Regions from separate parts of the Homo sapiens genome. Here region 2 is linked to region 1. Evidence: promoter capture Hi-C in human tissues and cell types (Jung and others, 2019). All regions are on one chromosome and are shown on one strand. The core of a region is centred on a gene start or on the middle of the fragment in contact, and the rest is flanking DNA. Distances in the headings are between cores, read along the strand shown. Region 1 holds the start of TCEA1 (transcription elongation factor A1). Region 2 overlaps LYN (LYN proto-oncogene, Src family tyrosine kinase).

The links. Contacts are between HindIII fragments. The study calls those that stand out against the background at their distance.
Region 2: a contact is called between a fragment that was not itself captured here and the fragment with the promoter of TCEA1 in region 1, in 1 of the 25 tissues and cell types used here (aorta).

Annotation. Positions count from the first base shown.
Region 1 is chr8:54,020,549-54,023,987 of GRCh38, forward strand. TCEA1 (transcription elongation factor A1) reads right to left here and starts at 1,900. Exons shown (of 10, transcript NM_006756.4): 1 at 1,515-1,900. The coding sequence starts at 1,577. All of the region lies in intron 12 of LYPLA1-TCEA1 (LYPLA1-TCEA1 readthrough), which reads right to left. LOC133039971 (Uncharacterized LOC133039971) reads left to right here and starts at 1,485. Exons shown (of 3, transcript NR_189620.1): 1 at 1,485-1,834. RefSeq lists silencers at 1,349-1,518, 2,646-2,953 and enhancers at 1,639-2,432, 1,689-1,838, 2,433-3,224. The HindIII fragment of the contact is 39,045 bases long and covers 1-3,439 here.
Region 2 is chr8:55,988,531-55,992,243 of GRCh38, forward strand. All of the region lies in intron 10 of LYN (LYN proto-oncogene, Src family tyrosine kinase), which reads left to right. Among named protein-coding and RNA genes, the nearest start is that of SNORD54, 84 kb to the right of the region's middle. RefSeq lists enhancers at 2,261-2,350, 2,821-2,880, 3,191-3,290. The HindIII fragment of the contact is 4,763 bases long and covers 1-3,713 here.

The sequences.
Region 1 (3,439 bases), core at 650-3,149:
AGCTGTCATGTGGAAAGCATGCTGTCCAGAAGAAAACCTGGGTCCTGGCTTATTCCAAACTACACAGTACTTAATTTAAGTAGTAGTACTTAATCTCTCTCAGTGTCTTAATCTGTAAAATGGATACCCTTTATGTACTCACAGCTCTGTGTGAGTCACAAAAGAATTTTGAGCAGATGCTTTTTAACTCCAAAGTGCTGTACAAATCAGAGCATCCCTTTTCTCTTCACATTAGTTTGACATGGAATTTACTTCATAGATGGAAGAAAAATTATTTCAGGTACACTGATGATGAAAATGTGCCGAACGTGGTTAAACAAATTTAGGTGAGGACAATTATATAAGTTTACCTGAGAGGCCAGGCGCAGTGGCCTCACGCCTGTAATCCCAGCACTTTGGGAGGCTGAGGTGGGCGGATCACCTGAGGTCAGGAGTTCGAGACCAGCCTGGTTAAGATGGTGAAACCCCGTTTCTACTAAAAATACAAAAAAATAGCCAGGCGTGGTGGCGCACGTCTGTAATCCCAGCTACTCGGGAGGCTGAGGCAGGAGAATCACTTGAACCCGAGAGGCGGAGGTTGCAGTGAGCCGAGATCAAGCCATTGCACTCCAGCTTGTGCAACAAGAGTTAAACTCCGTCTCGAAAAAATATGTTTAGCTAAGAACAGATGAGTCTGAAGCAAGGGACTGAAAGTGCCACACAAATGGGCAAGCTGTAGAAACTGGTCGTATGAGGATTTCTTACAAACCACAAAAGCATATGCTTACATGAATATTCATCAATAACAAAAAAAATGCCACCAGTATTAACTGTAAACCACTTAGAAAATACCCAACAATATAATTTGTCCAAATCCCTCTACCAGCATTCCGGTGAGTGTGCGTGCTGTAGTCCTAACTCTTCTGTACATTACGACAGGACAAAACCCGCTTTTTATAAAACGTTTAGCAACTCGCCAAGAAACTGGCACACTTTACCTTTTTAATCGCTAAGCAAACATGTAGCACAGTTGAGATAACCAGGCGGACGTTCAGCCCTCTTCAAAAATAAGACACAGAAGTTTTACATTTTACCAGCCCGATGTCTAATACCGATCACAAGCCTCTATTTGATGCTCTTTCTAGATGTTGGCCACGGATCACGGAAGACTCCATTCTTTCAAGTTCTGAGGACTTTCTACGCTTCAATTCCTAAGCTAAATTGCCAAGGTTTTACTAGCACGAAAGTTTAAAGTCAACGGAGAGCGTGCCCTAATCCCTAAATCGATTAGGTTTATTACACGGCACCAGCGAGCAGGGACTGGAAATACAAGAGCGAGCGGGTCCTAACGCAGGTTGCCGCGGGACCCGACGCCCCGGGCCCGGACACCCTCCCCGGGGACGCGGGCGCGGCGGGCCCGGCTCCCAGACGGGAGGCTGCAGGGGGAGGGGAGGGAGAAGGAGGGAGGGGGCGGCCCCCTCGGGCCGGACCGCGGCCCGGCCTCCCTCCCGGCCCGCGCCGCTCGCCGCGCTCACCGCGTTCTTCTTCTGCACCATCTTGTCCATCTTCTTGGCAAAGCGGACCACTTCGTCCTCCATGGCTCCGGCAGGTCTTCTCCGCGCCCACCCCGCTGGCAAGGGGAAGTGGGCGAAGCTGGAGCGGAAGACACAGCAGGAGCGACCCCCGGCGCGCAGCAACCCCCACCACCGCAGGCCCGGGCCTAGGCCCCCTTCCTTACGAACGAAGCCCGCGGCGGCGGCGGCGGCGGCGGCGGCTCCGGCTCCTCCTCCCCAGGCAGCGACAATCGAACACCGCGCGCGACGTGCAGGCGCTACCAACTGACTGCAGATCGCTGGTGAGGGGCGAGCCCATGTTCCCGCCAGGCGGGCGTCGGGCTAGTGGGCAGGCGTGGCTTCCGGCTAGAGGGTCGTGGAAGGCGCCCGGTTTTGCTGCGCGTTCACCTCCGGTCCCGCCCCCTCACGGGGCGGGTTTTCGGCCCCCTATTGCATCGGGACATCCCGGAGTTTTAGAACTCGCGGAGGCCCAAGTATCTCGAAACGGGGGCAGATTCCGAGCATGGAACTTTGGCAGGTTTTAAAGTCTGTGGGAAGCCAAGCACTTTCTCCATAGGAGACTGCTACGGGGAAAAATGGAACCCGTGTCCTCTAAGTTAGGTTACGGAGTTACTCGTTTTAAGAGTTCCTTTTTTTTTGAGACGGAGCCTCGTTCTGTCGCCTGGCTGGAGTACAGTGGCGCGATCTCCACTCACTGCAAGCTCCCCCCCCCGGGTTCAAGCGATTCTCCTGCTTTAGTTTCCCGAGTAGCTGGGACTACAGGCGCCCGCCACCACGCCCTGCTAATTTTTTGTATTTTTAGTAGAGACAGGGTTTCACCATGTTGGCCAGGATGGTTTTGATCTCTTGACCTAGTGATCCGCCCGCCTCGGCCTCCCAAAGTGCTGCGATTACAGACCTGAGCCACTGCACCCGGCTAAGCGTTCCTTTTTTTAAAAAAAATCGGCCGGGCGCGGTGGCTCATGCCTGTAATCCCAGCACTTTGGGAGGCCGAGGCGGGCGGATCAACTGAGGTGAGGAGTTCGAGACCAGCCTGACCAACATGGAGAAACATCGTCACTACTAAAAATACAAAATTAGCCGGGCGTCATGGCCTGTGATCCCAGCCACTCGGGAGGCTGAGGCAGGAGAATCGTTTGAACCCGGGAGGCGGAAGTTGCGGTGAGCCGAGACTGCCATTGCATTCTAGCCTGGGCGACAAGAGCGAAACTCCGTCTCAAAAAAAATAAAAAATAAATAAAGGTGAAATCGTTCGTGAGCTCCTGGAGTACTAAGAACCAGTCTTGGGCATGGCATTTTGAATAGTTGAAGAACAGTTGACGGAAACCTTCTGGTCAGAAATTACACAAGGCATCCCACCAGCTTCTGAGGATCAGAGAGGAAGGTGACTTAAGTTGTGACAGGGTTCATAGTGGAGAATGCAGGCTCCTCCAAAAAGTCTTTCCCCACTTAAACCCTTCACGACCAACTCATGCTATTTGCAGGTATAACTCCCACACCACGTAACTATCATTCATCAAAATACACCGCCTAATAATGTTCTTTCTATACTGAGATGACAGGTTTTTCCTGGTTATGACTCACTCATTTGGGGGAGAAGTATTGGGATCGTTTCCCTATTTTGTTTCATTTTTAAATTATCTTTTTATTATTGATTTCCAGCTTAAATTGTAGTATTTGTTGAGATTTATTTTGTCAATTTTTTTTTTTTTTTGACACGGAGTTTTGCTCTTATTGACCAGGCTGGAGTGCAGTGGTGCCATCTCGGCTGGCTCACTGCAACCTCCACCTCCCAGGTTCAAGCGATTTTCCTGCCTCAGTCTCCTGAGTAGCTGGGACTACAGGCGCCCACCAGCACACCCGGCTAATTTTTTGTGTTTTTAGTA
Region 2 (3,713 bases), core at 1,101-3,600, 2.0 Mb after region 1:
ATTCTTCTTTTTCTCAAGCATAGGAAGACAATACATCCTTAGAGAGTAAGGTAAACAGTGTCTACTAAAACAGGTAAAGCACCAGGAAAATCAGATCTTCATTTTTCCTACTTTTTGACAGGTTTCTCATTTAATTTTTCTCACTGCTTGTCTAGATGACAAATGTTTTCCAAGCAGCCAATTCTAAGACAGGTTGCGTTTTCAGTTCCAGTTTCTCATTTAGGCTGGAATTTCCTGGGGTAGTTTTTAGCTTTGCTTGAGAGATCACATTCAGCCCCTCAGTGAGGTTCCTTTGATCCCTTTTTTCCCTCAGTCATCTGACAGAAATGGGGGTTCTTCTCATTAAAGTGAAAAAAAAAAACCCAAAAAACAAAAAACTCACCGAGCAAGATAGCCTTGCTTGTCTTTGCCAATTTCTCAAAAAGCGATAGTAATTAGGATGAACAGAAGAGCACTAAAGCAAGATTTCCAGAGTGAGGTCATCCACAGAACACTTCATTATTTGTCCAAAGCATTGCTCATGTTCTCTGGTGGTAGCAGCCGGGTATGTGTGCTGAGCAAACAGTCCACAGGGCACATGCCCAGCAAGGCTGGTGATGGCTCAGAGCCTGCGCCTCGGGTGGGAGAGAGCTTGCTGGAAGCCGGTTTCACCGTGTGGGATGCTGGGGTTGACAGACTTCTCACTGGGCCTTTGAGAAAAGCGGGAAAGATGAATGACCTGGATGGTCATCACTAGGAAGCTACTAAGCAGGGGCATTATTTGAGCTCTGCTTGGATTTGTAAAACATAATTGAGATTGTGCTCTCTATCAAACCCGCATAAAAGAAGTCCATCTGATATATTACCTAGGGCCTTGGTGGTTAGGAATTTCCCATCTCTGGTGTGGTCATAGGCAACCCACTTCTCAGTGGGTGTGTTTGATGACACAAAACCGCAGTGCCTCATGAGGGAGAGCCCGGTTGCCTTTCCTCGAGAAGGTCCAGGCAGGTGCATTTGGATAGGGCTTGCTGAGCCTACTCACATGGACACTCCCCATTCAGGAAATAGCAACTTGGACTTTCTACTTTAACATTGTTAGAGGAGAGGGAATTTAAATGAGTGCATTCCACTCAAATGTTTCTAAAACTTTGGTCTCATTTAACCAAACCAAAAACCATCTGAGACAGGTCTCCATCAATTTAGAGGTTTATTTTGCCGAGGTTGAGGACCATGGCTCATGACACAGCCACCAGAGATCCTGGGAACATGTGTCCAAGGTGGCTGGGATACAGCTTGATCTTACACATTTTAGGGAGACAGAAGTTATAGGCAAAGACATAAATCAGTACACAGAAGGTGTACATTGGTTCAACCCAGGAAGGCGGGATGTCTTGAAGCTGGGAGGGGAGGCTTCCAGGCCATAAGTGGATTCAAAAATTTCCTGATTGGCCAGGCACAGTGACTCATGCCTGTAATCCCAGTACTTTAGGAGGCCGAAGTGGGTGGATCACCTGAGGTCAGGAGTTTGAGACCAGCCTGGCCAACATGGCAAAACACTGTCTCTACTAAAAATATAAAAATTAGCCAGGCATGGTGGCGGACACCTGTAGTCCCAGCTACTCAGGAGACTGAGGCAGGAGAATCGCTTGAACCCAGGAGGTGGAGGTTGCAGTGAGCTGAGACTGTGCCACTGCACTCCAGCCTGGGTGATAGAGTGAGACTCTGCCTCCAAAAAAAAAAAAAAAAAAAAAAAAGTCCTGATTGGCCATTGGTTGAAGGAGTTAAGCTTTGCCTGAAGAGTTGTAGTAAGCTTGAGTTAAGGTATAGGAAGTGGTGGTTGTAGAAGCAAAGGTTCTTATCATGTAGATGAAGACTTCAGGTAGCAGGCCTCAGAGAGAACAGATGTGAATGTCTCTTATGGGACCTTAAAAGGTGTCAGTTAAATCTCTCCTGGATCAGGAAAAGACTTGGAAAGGGAATGGGATTCTCTATAGAATATAAATTTCCCCCATAAGAGATGGCTTTGCAGGGCCGTTTCAAAATTTGTCAGAGAAATATATTTTAAGGTAAAATACTTTGATCTTCTTTAGAACCTGTTATCTGTCATGTGATGTTATACTAAAGTCTGGTTGGAATTTGGTATCTTATTGCTGCAAAGAGTCTGTTTATCAGTCTCAGGATCTCTATTTTAATGTGAATGCTGGTCATTGGTGTCTACACTCCAAAAGGGAGAAGGGCATAATGAGTCATGTCCAATTCCCCCTTCTCATCATGGCCTGAACTAGTTTTTCAGGTTTCTTTGAAATCCCCTGGGCCAAGGGGAGGGTCTACCCAGTTGGTTAAGAGGCTTAGAATTTTAATTTTGTTTTACATGTTTTAAACCTCATACCCTGGGGAAAAAGTTATTTGCAAAGTAAATAGGACTCTAAATTTTGTATTCTGTCCCCACTCTGCCCAGCTTAAGTGTGTGCCTATTTAAGGGTGTCTGTGTGTGTGAAATCATACTAGAGATGTGAATATACCAACAAATAGAGACACGCCGGCAGTACTACCACGTCAACTTAAGCAGCTGTGTCCATAGTGGCCTCTGAGATGCTGCTCGGGGTCTGAGGTCTATCCCTGATCCCACTCTGCCACCAGCCCTGACAGCTGGGTTGCCTCCACCTGGAGGAAGTGGCACCTTTTCTCACCTGCTGTGGCCCCAAGGGTATCTTTGTTGAAGGGTTGACACTTCCTGTTTCACACCAGCAGTGGGGGAGAAAGTCCTGCCCCTTTGGGGTCAGAACGTTGGGTAAGACCTTACTTCTCTCTTTCTCTGGTCCACTTGTGCCTCTAGCTGCCTCAAAGCCCTGACTTATGGAAGGCATCTGTTCAGCTGACTGGCAGTGGAGGAAGAGGCAGACACTTGGTGACTAACTCCTTTTCTTCTCATTGTATGTTACAAAGGCCACTCTAGATGACTGGAAGTCTATCTATCCAGCCAAACAAGATAAGCCTGCCCATTAACTCAGGAAGCATTATTATTAATATGTTCTGTGCACCTAGACTTTTCATTGTGTACAAGATGCCAAGAGTTTCACCAGAACCCCCCACCCCCAGGATTTGCTCTCTGACCCAGTAGTTCTGTGCCTCCTCCCAGGACAGCAGTGGGCTCAGCATGGTCTTCTTTGTCATCAGCTTCAGGCACAGGCGTTTTCAGGAAACAATCACCTTGCTCCACACTCAGAGTTTTGGTCATGGTGCACCCCCACATGCTCCCTTGTCCCTGTGCTCAGTAAACCGCTTTTTAAAAACGAAAATGAAAAACACAGAAACAGCACAGGTAGAAAATACCATCATATGTTTTCACTGAAGGCAAAAAAAGAAACTAAAAAATGTGCATTGGCCATGCTATTTGAATCAAAGAGCACAAGAAGCATCAGCACATCTCAGCTTAAGTCAAGAGTATGGAAACCTCACTGACATCGTCTCTTTACGTGATTAGTCTCATTTTTGGTAATAGGGATGCTTTTTATTTCAGATTTCCAGTAGCTTCACACATCAACTTTCTGAGACAGAGTTAGACATCAGCACTGGGTGAAAGAGACAGTTTAAATTAGTTCTTTGGTGTCGGCAGGTGGTTTAGAAAGTTGGGGTTTTCTTGTCTTTGTTCACCCCTGGGCCTGACATTATAATGAAGAGAATCACATGGCCTAAGATGAAGAGAATCTCCTCATTTGGTTTAGAACCAAAAG